Linked DNA regions of Homo sapiens: regions 2, 3 and 4 are each linked to region 1. Evidence: promoter capture Hi-C in 16 types of primary human blood cells and fetal thymus (Javierre and others, 2016). All regions are on one chromosome and are shown on one strand. Each heading gives the region's core, a stretch centred on a gene start or on the middle of the fragment in contact. The rest is flanking DNA. Distances are from core to core; before and after follow the strand shown.

Evidence for each region. Contacts are between HindIII fragments. The CHiCAGO score rates a contact against its expected background, and 5 or more counts as called.
Region 2: a contact is called between the fragment with the promoter of SPN here and a fragment that was not itself captured in region 1, in 10 of 17 cell types (naive CD4 T cells, activated CD4 T cells, naive CD8 T cells and 7 more). The highest score is 7.5, in naive CD4 T cells.
Region 3: the fragment with the promoter of ZNF771 here is called in contact with a fragment that was not itself captured in region 1 in 7 of 17 cell types (fetal thymus, total CD4 T cells, naive CD8 T cells and 4 more); the score reaches 9.3 in fetal thymus.
Region 4: the fragment with the promoter of C16orf54 here is called in contact with a fragment that was not itself captured in region 1 in 7 of 17 cell types (M1 macrophages, activated CD4 T cells, naive CD8 T cells and 4 more); the score reaches 7.9 in M1 macrophages.

The regions. Positions count from the first base shown.
Region 1 is chr16:30,049,337-30,052,012 of GRCh38, forward strand. It overlaps a transcript of TLCD3B not described here. Among named protein-coding and RNA genes, the nearest start is that of ALDOA, 15 kb to the right of the region's middle. The HindIII fragment of the contact is 2,534 bases long and covers 69-2,602 here.
Region 2 is chr16:29,661,940-29,664,615 of GRCh38, forward strand. SPN (sialophorin) reads left to right here and starts at 1,308. Exons shown (of 2, transcript NM_003123.6): 1 at 1,308-1,377; 2 at 1,756-2,676. The coding sequence starts at 1,790. RefSeq lists enhancers at 23-72, 713-792 and silencers at 973-1,032, 2,293-2,412. The HindIII fragment of the contact is 6,496 bases long and covers 265-2,676 here.
Region 3 is chr16:30,406,255-30,408,930 of GRCh38, forward strand. It overlaps ZNF771 (zinc finger protein 771), which reads left to right and starts at 1,352. Exons shown (of 3, transcript NM_001142305.2): 1 at 1,352-1,410; 2 at 1,791-1,940. The coding sequence starts at 1,800. RefSeq lists silencers at 1,076-1,255, 1,278-1,487. The HindIII fragment of the contact is 8,204 bases long and covers 91-2,676 here.
Region 4 is chr16:29,744,631-29,747,306 of GRCh38, forward strand. It overlaps C16orf54 (chromosome 16 open reading frame 54), which reads right to left and starts at 1,360. Exons shown (of 2, transcript NM_175900.4): 1 at 1,281-1,360; 2 at 1-321. The coding sequence starts at 321. It overlaps LOC124903673 (a long non-coding RNA gene), which reads left to right and starts at 617. Exons shown (of 2, transcript XR_007065046.1): 1 at 617-755. RefSeq lists enhancers at 1,650-1,699, 2,227-2,296. The HindIII fragment of the contact is 10,190 bases long and covers 1-2,676 here.

The DNA.
Region 1 (2,676 bases), core at 86-2,585:
GGAGGCAGCTGAAAGTATTAGATCAGAATCAGAACTGCCAGGTCCCTTCCCACGTCCAAGCCTGCTGAAGCTTCTTTCATCTTCTGGGAACTCTGCATCTCTGATCTCCCACCCACCCCACGATTATTGGAAGTATACAATCCTGTCTGCCCTTTCCTAGGGGAAGTGCGGAACTACATATGATACATCTGACATCTCCAGCTTCCAACTTCGGGAGAGGAGACTTTGCGGTTAGCTGGCTATTGTGAAGTCAGTTTTTCTCTGCCCCCAGCAAATGTTGTGATGTGGATAGAAGTGGGGCCTCGGCACAGCCAGGCGCAGTAGCTCACATCTGTAACCCAGCACTTTGGGAGGCCGACGTGGACAAATCACAAGGTCAGGAGTTTAAGACTAGCCTGGCCAACATGGTGAAACCCTGTCTCTACTAAAAATACAAAAATTAGCCGGGCATGGTGGCATGCGTCTGTAATCCCAGCTATTTGGGAGGCTGAGATAGGAGAATCACTCAACTTGGGAGGCAGAGGTTGCAGTGCGCTGAGATCGCACCACTGCACTCTAGCGTGGGCAACAGAGCAAGACTCCATCTCAAAAAAAAAAAAAAAGAGAAAGAAAAGAAATGGGGCCTTGGCAAAGTGGGGTGCATACATCATCCCTTGTCTTGGCTTGCCTGGCAACACACAAGCCTGGGGCACTGCCCGTGCTCCTGCATAATGTATGAGCCCATGGTAGGAACAAAACACCAGCACCAGCGAGTCTGGGCACTGCAGGCCACGGACGTGTCCAGGGGCCTTGCCAAGGCTGAAGTCTCTCTGTTGGCAGAATATGCAGAATATGTGTTCCTGGAGGCCTTTTGTAGGGCTGAGGTGAGAACTGGCCTCAACTTGGTCCTCAGGATTCCATCAGACAATAAGACCGCCCAAGGCCGGGCACAGTGGTTCACGCTTGTAATCCCAGCAATTCGAGAGGCTGAGGCAGGAGGATCGCCTGAGCCCAGGAGTTCAAAAACAGCCTGAGCAATACAGTGAGACCCCGTCTATACAAAAAATTTTAAAAATTAGCTGGGTGTCGTAGCATGCACCTGTAGTCTCAGCTACTTGGGAGACTGAGGTGGAAGGATCCCTTGAGCCAGGAGGTCGAGGCTGTTGTGGTGAGCCATGATTGTGCCATTGCACTCCAGCCTGGGCTACCGAGTGAGACTCTGTCTCAAAAAAAACAAAAACAAAAACAAAAACCGGAAGACAGCCTAAGAAGACAATCTTCTTTAGGATCAATAATGGTGACATTAGCAACAGCTAGACTTCTGTTTTCTGGGCTTGAAACGCCCTCTGAGAGGGCCAGGGGTGGCCAAGAGGGTGGCTGAGACCACCTCAGTATGGTTGACAGTGGGAGGGAAGATTTGGATCCAGGGACACAGCCCCTGGCAGTTTCCGTGGCTGCCTCATGGTGTAGGAAACCCCAGGAGCAGCAGCTGTGGTGAGGTATGTTGGGGTGGAGAACATGGACAAAAATAGGTATATGGTGGCATTGTTTTTAGGGGAAAATGCCAGGATTCAGCCATCGTTTAGGAAGTCGGAGGCCTCCATAGAGAGGGGTGCTTGTGTGAGCGTGCATGTGTGGGTGTGTGCAAGTGTCTGTGTGTGTGTGATCTAAAAAGGTTAGGAATGAAACGGGGAGGTCTGAGTGCCTTGAAAGCCAAGGAAATTAGGACGTGTGGAAAACAATGCTTCATTCGTGGATGGTGTTTGGTTTCAATTCATTCATAGAATCAGTGAGTATTGGCTGAGTGCAGTGGCTCTGGCCTGTAATACCAGCAACCTGGGAGGCCGAGGTGGGAGGATCATTTGAGGCAGGAGTTGGAGACTAGCCTGGCCAACATAGTGAGACCCCATGTCTACTTTATTAAAAGAAAAAAACAGGCCAGGCGCAGTGGCTCACACCTGTAATCCCAGCACTTTGGGAGGCCAAGGCGGGCAGAACACCTAAGGTCGGGAGTTCGAGACCAGCCTGACCAACATGGACAAACCCCGTCTCTACTAAAAATACAAAATTAGCTGGGCATGGTGGCACTTCCAGCTACTCTGGAAGCTGAGGCAGGAGAATTGCTTGAATCCAGGGCGGAGGTTGCAGTGAGCTGAGATCACACCATTGCACTCCAGCCTGGGCGACAAGAGCAAAACTCCGTTTCAAAAAAAAAAAAAAAAAAGAAAAGAAAAGAAAAAAGAAAGAAAGAAAGAAAAAGAATCAGTGAGTATTCACCAAGGCTCCCAGGGCTAGGCCAAGTACTAGAGCTCAGGATACGGAGATGACTCAGACCAGGCCCCAGACACTTGCAGTCTAATTGTGGAGCCAGACATGGAAGTGAGGAATTCAAGTATCTTGTGAGAAGTGCGAGAACAACAGTATCTGTAGGATGCTGTGGGAATTCACAGTCCAAAGCAGCCACCTCTGCCTGAGGTTGGCAGGGAGACCTCACAGAGGCAAAACTGAGGACGTGCTTGAGGGATGAGGAAGAGGTTTGAGGGGAAGACAGAGGGTGTTCCAGGCAGAGGGATCAGCAACTGCAAAGCTGTGGAAATGTGAGACCCTACACACTGGTTCAGGAAGCTTCAGCAGATCCTACTGAAGGTGGCTTATGCCTGTAATCCCAGCTACCTGGGAGGCTGAGGCTGGAGGACT
Region 2 (2,676 bases), core at 58-2,557, 390 kb before region 1:
ATGGCACAGTCCCACGGGCCTGTTAGAATCTTCTATTGTGCACATGTTGCTCTTAAAATATACAAATCAGTTTTGATTTTAAAAAATTATTTATTTTTTTAGTGATAGGAGTTTTGCTACGTTGCCCAGGCTGGTTTCAAACTCTTGGGCTCAGGAGGTCCTCCCACTTTGGCCTGGACTGCCAGCATAATGTATCACCACACCCGGGACTGATTTTCGTTTTTCAAGAACAAAAACCAAAAACATACACAAACCGAGAGTCAAAGCTTGCTAATTAGAGGAAAGTCAGGAAATGGGAACCATTCAAAGAAGAAAATACCCCCACCTCCTACTCTCACCTATCCAAAGACAATTAGGTGAATCCCTTAGTAGATATCTTTCCAGACGGTTTTCCATATAGATTCCCATATCTGGCCAGGCGCGGTGGCTCACACCTGTAATCCTAGCGCTTGGGGAGGCTGAGGCGGATGGACCACCTGAGGTCAGGAGTTCGAGACCAGCCTGACCAACATGGAGAAACCTCGTCTCTACGAAAAATACAAAATTAGCCGGGCACAGTGGTGCAAGCCTGTAATCCCAGCTACTCAGGAGGCCGAGGCAGGAGAATTGCTTGAACCTAGGAGGCAGACATTGTGCTGAGCCGAGCCAAGATCATGCCATTGCACTAAACTCCGCCTTAAAAAAAAAAAAAAAGATTCCCACATCTTTACTAGTTTGCAGAAATAAGATCCTAGCATATGCAGTGTGTAGGAACCACCTTGGTTTAGCCACGTCTCTGTGACTGGGGGCCACTGTGGTGACCCCCAGCTCCCCGGACAGAGTCAAGAGCTCACCAGCCTGCAAAGGTTTTCACGGCCCCCAGCCAGACTCGGGGGCTTCCTCTTGCCCTGCTACTTCCTGGGAGCTCTGAGGGCAGGAAATGGCGCCACTCAGCTCCTGGCCTAACAGCTTGGGGACCACAAATGCAAAGGAAACCACCCTCCCCTCCCACCTCCTCCTCTGCACCCTTGAGTTCTCAGGCTCACATTCCCACCACCCACCTCTGAGCCCAGCCCTCCCTAGCATCACCACTTCCATCCCATTCCTCAGCCAAGAGCCAGGAATCCTGATTCCAGATCCCACGCTTCCCTGCCTCCCTCAGGTGAGCCCCAGACCCCCAGGCACCCCGCTGGCCCCTGAAGGAGCAGGTGATGGTGCTGTCTTCGCCCAGCAGCTGTGGGAGCAGGCGGGTGGGGCAGGATGGAGGGGTGGGTGGGGTGGGTGGAGCCAGGGCCCACTTCCTTTCCCCTTGGGGCCCTGTCCTTCCCAGTCTTGCCCCAGCCTCGGGAGGTGGTGGAGTGACCTGGCCCCAGTGCTGCGTCCTTATCAGCCGAGCCGGTAAGAGGGTGAGACTTGGTGGGGTAGGGGCCTCAGTGGGCCTGGGAATGTGCCTGTGGCTTGAAAAGACTCTGACAGGTTATGATGGGAAGAGATTGGGAGCCATTGGGCTGCACAGGGTCAGGGAAGGCCAGGAGGGGCTGGTCACTGCTGGAATCTAAGCTGCTGAGGCTGGAGGGAGCCTCAGGATGGGGCTGATGGGGGAGCTGCCAGCATCTGTTCCTCTGTCATTTCTGATAACAGTAAAAGCCAGCATGGAAAAAACCGTTAAACCGCAGGTTGGGCCTGGCCGTTGGCAGGGAAGTGGGCAGAGGGGAGGCCCGGCCAGGTCCTCCGGCAACTCCCGCGTGTTCTGCTTCTCCGGCTGCCCACCTGCAGGTCCCAGCTCTTGCTCCTGCCTGTTTGCCTGGAAATGGCCACGCTTCTCCTTCTCCTTGGGGTGCTGGTGGTAAGCCCAGACGCTCTGGGGAGCACAACAGCAGTGCAGACACCCACCTCCGGAGAGCCTTTGGTCTCTACTAGCGAGCCCCTGAGCTCAAAGATGTACACCACTTCAATAACAAGTGACCCTAAGGCCGACAGCACTGGGGACCAGACCTCAGCCCTACCTCCCTCAACTTCCATCAATGAGGGATCCCCTCTTTGGACTTCCATTGGTGCCAGCACTGGTTCCCCTTTACCTGAGCCAACAACCTACCAGGAAGTTTCCATCAAGATGTCATCAGTGCCCCAGGAAACCCCTCATGCAACCAGTCATCCTGCTGTTCCCATAACAGCAAACTCTCTAGGATCCCACACCGTGACAGGTGGAACCATAACAACGAACTCTCCAGAAACCTCCAGTAGGACCAGTGGAGCCCCTGTTACCACGGCAGCTAGCTCTCTGGAGACCTCCAGAGGCACCTCTGGACCCCCTCTTACCATGGCAACTGTCTCTCTGGAGACTTCCAAAGGCACCTCTGGACCCCCTGTTACCATGGCAACTGACTCTCTGGAGACCTCCACTGGGACCACTGGACCCCCTGTTACCATGACAACTGGCTCTCTGGAGCCCTCCAGCGGGGCCAGTGGACCCCAGGTCTCTAGCGTAAAACTATCTACAATGATGTCTCCAACGACCTCCACCAACGCAAGCACTGTGCCCTTCCGGAACCCAGATGAGAACTCACGAGGCATGCTGCCAGTGGCTGTGCTTGTGGCCCTGCTGGCGGTCATAGTCCTCGTGGCTCTGCTCCTGCTGTGGCGCCGGCGGCAGAAGCGGCGGACTGGGGCCCTCGTGCTGAGCAGAGGCGGCAAGCG
Region 3 (2,676 bases), core at 102-2,601, 360 kb after region 1:
CTCGGCTCACTGCAACCACTGCCTCCCCAGTTCAAGCAATTCTCGTGCCTCAGCCTCTCGAGTAGCTGGGATTACAGGCATGCACCACCAAGCTTGGCTAATTTTTGTATTTTTAGTAGAGACGGGGTTTCACCATGTTGGTTAGGCTGGTCTCGAAATCCTGACCTCAAGTGATCCACCGGCCTCCGCCTCCCAAAGTGCTGGGATTACAGGCATGAGCCACCGCGCCCGGCTTTGAAACGATTTTTTTTTTTTTTTTTTTTTTTTTTTTTTGAGACGGAGTCTCGCTCTGTCGCCCAGGCTGGAGCGCAGTGGCGCGATCTCGGCTAACTGCAAGCTCGCCTCCCGGGTTCACGCCATTCTCCTGTCTCAGCCTCCCGAGTAGCTGGCACTACAGGTGCCCGCCACCACGCCCAGCTAATTTTTTGTATTTTGTTTAGTAGAGTCGGGGTTTCACCGTGTTAGCCAGGATGGTCTCTATCTCCTGACCTCGTGATCCGCCCGCCTCGGCCTCCTAAAGTGCTGGGATTACAGGCGTGAGCCGCCGTGCCCGTCCGAAAAGATTTTTTAAAAGTAAAAATACCCTAAGGGCCAAACAAGGTACCCCTGTGGACTGGATTTAGCTTTGGGCTGTTGTTCACCTAGGCTACTGATTGTCAGGGATGCTATGACATCCTTATCGTGTAACTTAGGCAAATCAGTTTACCTCCCTGAACTTCAGTGAGCTCATCTGTAAAATGGATCAGGACCCATCGTTATGCGGATCAAATGAGACCAGGTATGTAAGACGCTGAACAGCGCTGGCGCATGGTAAGCACCCCACGCATGACGCGACAGCGGTAGCTTGGGTGGATGTTGAATTGGTTAGGATGTATTCAAGGATATCCCAGAGGCCAGCGGAATAGGCGAAGCCGAGAAAGATGGAGAAAAGACGGCAGAGGAGATAAAGAGGGAATGGAAGAAGTGAGGAGGCAACAGGGTCCGCCCTCCAGGCGGGGCGCCAGGGAGAGGCCCAGGCCGGGGCGGGAGCGCACGTGGCCTATTTCGGGCGGAGCAGAGGCACTGGGCGCAGCGGAGACCTCCAAGCCGGCCCCAGGAGACGGGCCGCGAGGTTAGGTTGGAACTCGGCGGCAAGGACCTTGAACGCCGGGCTGGGGCGGCTCCAGGTGCTTGGGAGTCGGGGGACTGCGGAGGACGCCAAGTCTGAGCTCGCCGCCCTCTCCGAGCCGTTTGGGCCGGACGCCTGGGTCCTTCGGGCTCCGCCCCAGGGGGTGGGGCTATATGTTCGGACCAATGACCGGCCGTCCCTGCGGTCCCGCCCCCTCCCCGCCCCCGGAGCCGCGGCCTCGCTGAGTGCCCAGCCGCCCGGCGCCCAGGCCTGGGGCACCGCGAGTGCCGAACCTTCGGCTGGTGAGTGCGCACCCCCTCCCCGGGGTTTCCGCCCCGATCCCGCCTCCAGCCCGTGCCCCAGAGCTCCAGGTCGCCGACCCGGGCCCTGGGGAGTGACTCAGCGCAAGGATGGTGGCGACTTGCGGGGGCTGGAGATTCGAACTGTTCAAGGCCTTGAATGCTGGGATGAGTGGGGTGAACGCGAGCCCTCGGAGCTGGTCCCGGGGCTGTGCCAGAGCGTGGGGCCGGGCTGGGGTGGACGGGAGAGGACCAGATTCGGAGACCAGGGCAGGGCGGGAGAAGCCACGGCTGCACTGCCTTGCTGGGCCAGGGCCACGGTGGGCGGGGGGGGGGGTGGGGGGGGGCGGGTCCTGAGCTTCTGATCCAGCTCCCCGCCTCAGGACACCAAGATGCCTGGCGAACAGCAGGCAGAGGAAGAGGAGGAGGAAGAGATGCAGGAGGAGATGGTGCTGCTGGTGAAGGGTGAGGAGGATGAGGGTGAGGAGAAGTATGAGGTGGTGAAACTCAAGATCCCCATGGACAACAAGGAGGTATGTGTCACACACACCCTGGGGCACACTGTCCCCAAACCTGGTCCAGGCCCAGCCTCCCTCAGATAGAAGCCAGGGATCTTGCCCCTACTTTTCCCAGAATCTCGGATCTAAAACCTCAGGATTGGCCCATCCTTCTGCCCTACTGCCTGGGCTTCCATCATACAAAAGTCACGCCTACTGTCCCAGGCTTCCTGCTGGGTGCAGGAGATTAAACTCCGTCCTTGGATCCCCCATGGAGCTTGATGTTAGACTGAAGGGTAACCACACAGTTAGAATCCCGTGTGATGGCTGCAGGTACAGGGGGATGATGAAGCCTAGAAGTGGGAACTTAACTCAGATTTAGAGGTTGGGGAAAGGTCAGGTTAGTTCAACAGCAACAGTAACAATAGCTAACCCTTGCCTAGCATTTTCTATGTGCCAGGCACTGTTCTAAGCACCTCGATTCTATGATGTCGGTAGCATTTATTCCATTTTACAGATGAGGAGACTGAGGCCCAGGGCAGTTTGGTAACTGGCCACAGGTCTCAAAGTAAAAGGATGGCTTATGTGAGACTAGTAGGAGTCTGGGGTCAGAAGTGGGGTGATGGACCCAGTCAGAGGAAATGGCTCTTTTATTATTACTGTTGTTATTGTTTGAGACAGGGTCTCATTCAGTCACCCAAGCTGTAGTGCAGTACAGCTCACTGCAGCCTTGACTTCCCTGGGCTCAGGTGATCCTCCCACCTCAGCCTCC
Region 4 (2,676 bases), core at 110-2,609, 300 kb before region 1:
GGCCCGATCTGTCAGCAGGGGGACCGCAGAGCCATACCAGTCCTCAGAGCGCTCTCGGGCGGTGCCCATGGGCTCAATCCACAGCTCTCCTCCTGGGCGCCACACCAGGGTGGGTGCACGGTGGCTGGGGTCTGGGCGGAGAGCACGGCGGAACAGGCGTTCAGCCAACACAGCGGTGGTGAGGATGAAGAGCGCAGCCAGGGTGGCCAGGACCAGCATGATGGGGATGCAGGGCCCACAGGGCAGTGAGGGCCATGGGGCTGCTTCCCATGCGGGGGGCCCCTCCACGCGCCCAGAGGGCGGCTCTGGAGTCAACGGCATCTGAGAGACACAGGGGTGAGAAGAGGAAGTAAATGAGGCAGAGGGGGCACAACCAAGATGAGAGAGAGGCAGCAGGTGTCCAGGAAAGCCTGGGAGAAGGGCTGGGCATGGGGGCTCATGCCTGGAATCCCAGCACTTTGAGAGGTCGAGGCGGGAGGATCACTTGAGCCCAGGAGTTCAAGACCAGCCTGGACACACAGTGAAACCTCATCTCTAAAAATAATTTAAAAACTAGCTGGGTGTGGTGGCTCACACCTGTAGTCCCAGCTACACAGGAAGCTGAGGTGGGAGGATTACTTGAGCCCAGGAGTTTGAAGCTGCAGTGACCCCAGATTGCACCACTGTCCTCCAGCCTGGGCAATAGAGCAAGACCCTTTCTCAAAAATGAAAAAGAACATTCTGGAGAGACAGAGAAGCAAGAGGGACCAGAAAGGGTAAGCGTGAGCCAGGTGGGGTGGGAGGACAGGCAGCCTACCTCGGGGCACAGCCAGGCCCTCCTGCCTGGCTCTCCAGGCCTTTCCAGAATCCCCATTTCCCTCCCAGACCCCAGGGTGCCTCAGACAAGAAAGGTCTCAAGGGCTTCTTTCCTCCCCACTCGGCCCCCTCAAGTCTTGCTCAGACCTAGAGAGGAAGTGGTGGGTGAAGAAATGAGAACCTCCCCTCCCACTGGCTCCCCTGCGTGTGTCTCCCCCACCGCCTGCCGCCAGCACCTCCGCTGGCCCCTTGAGGCTCCTTCGCCCCTCACCATTCTCCTCGGACTTGATCTTGCTCTCATAGGCTCCACGGAATCTGCTGCCGGGCCGGGCCGGGCCAGGCCTCCGGAGGCGCCTCTGCACCCCTCCTGGGCTCCCCAGCTTTGCCCAGGCTCTGGCCTGTCTCTATCTCTCGTTTGTCTCTGCACACCTCTCTGTCCCCCACATCCTCCATCTGCAGGGGGCCTCCTGCACCCCTCAACTCACCTTGGGTCAGTCCCTGGGCTCCTCTCCCTCCTAGAGCCACTCTTCCTGGTGCTGGACTAAGAGGTGCAGGCTTGGAGGGTGCAGGGCGGTCCGCCTCTCAGACGTAGAGGCCCGGCCTCGGATGAAGGCGGAAGGGAGGGCACCGCCTGTTGCTGGGCAACTGTGCCCCAACTCGTCTGCCCCTGGGGAGTGTTTGTTTCCAAAGCAACCCAAGGGGATGTGGTCACTGCGGTGAGGAGGCTTTTCCTGGGGTAAGGTGGGGCTGGAATGGGCAATGGTTCTGTTGAACTTAGTGTCACCCCATAGCCAGGCCCTGAGCCCCAGAACATTCACCGAAAAGCTGAGAAAGAGGACGCCGGGGCCAGGCACAGTGGCTCACCCCTGTAATCCCAGCATTTTGGGAGGTCAAGGTGGGCAAGTCACCTGAGGTCAGGAGTTCGAGACCAGCCTGCCAACATGGCGAAACCCCATCTCTACTGAAAAATACAAAAATTAGCTGGGCATGGTGACGGGCACTTGTAATCTCAGCTGCTCAGGCGGCTGAGGCAGGGAGAATCGCTTGAACCCGGGACTCGGAGGTTGCAGTGAGCTGAGATCGTGCCACCACACTCCAGCCTGGGCAACAGAGTGAGACTCCGTCTTAAAAAAAAAGAAAAGAAAAGAAAAGAAAAAGAAATAGGACACTGGGACTTTAGCCCGTACATTCCCAGAGAACCATGGTGCCTCCCCCGTTCCTCCTGGGAGGATGCCCCACCCCATCCTGCCTTGTCTTATCCACGGTGCCTCCCCAGATCTGCTCCTGCCATGCAGCCCCCACAGGCACCCCCTGCTTGGCCAGCTTGCTTCACACCTTTTTTTTTTTTTTCTGGTAGAGATGGGCTCTTGCTATGTTGCCCAGGCTGGTCTCAAGCTCCTGGCCTCAAGAGATCCTCCTGCCTCAGCCTCCCAAAGTGCTGGGATTACAGGTGTGAGCTACCACACTGGCCCCTGCCTCATACTTTTAATTAACATAAGTCTCTCTCTCTTCAGACCATTTAGCCCCCATTTTGGTTGGAAAATATCAGTGAGGTGAGGCTTGGGTAACAAAAATGTCAAGCCTCTGAGAGGAGTCCAGGGTATAAAAACAGGCGTGGGCCTGTTTCCAAAACCCTGACCATCCTCATGTCTGTCCCTCTTTCCTGCTGCTGAGGGTGGGAGGAGCCTGGAGCAGAGTGTGACAAGATGTCATCAGGCTCTGGAGTCCAGGTGACTTTCTGAGATTCTCTAGTTTGACTCATCCACAGATGACAAAAGTAAGGCTTAAAGAAAAGAGATTTCATGACCAAAGTCGCATGACCAATGTATGTGTGGGTGAGCATGTAGTGGCCAGGGTGGTGGAAGAATAGATAGAAATCCC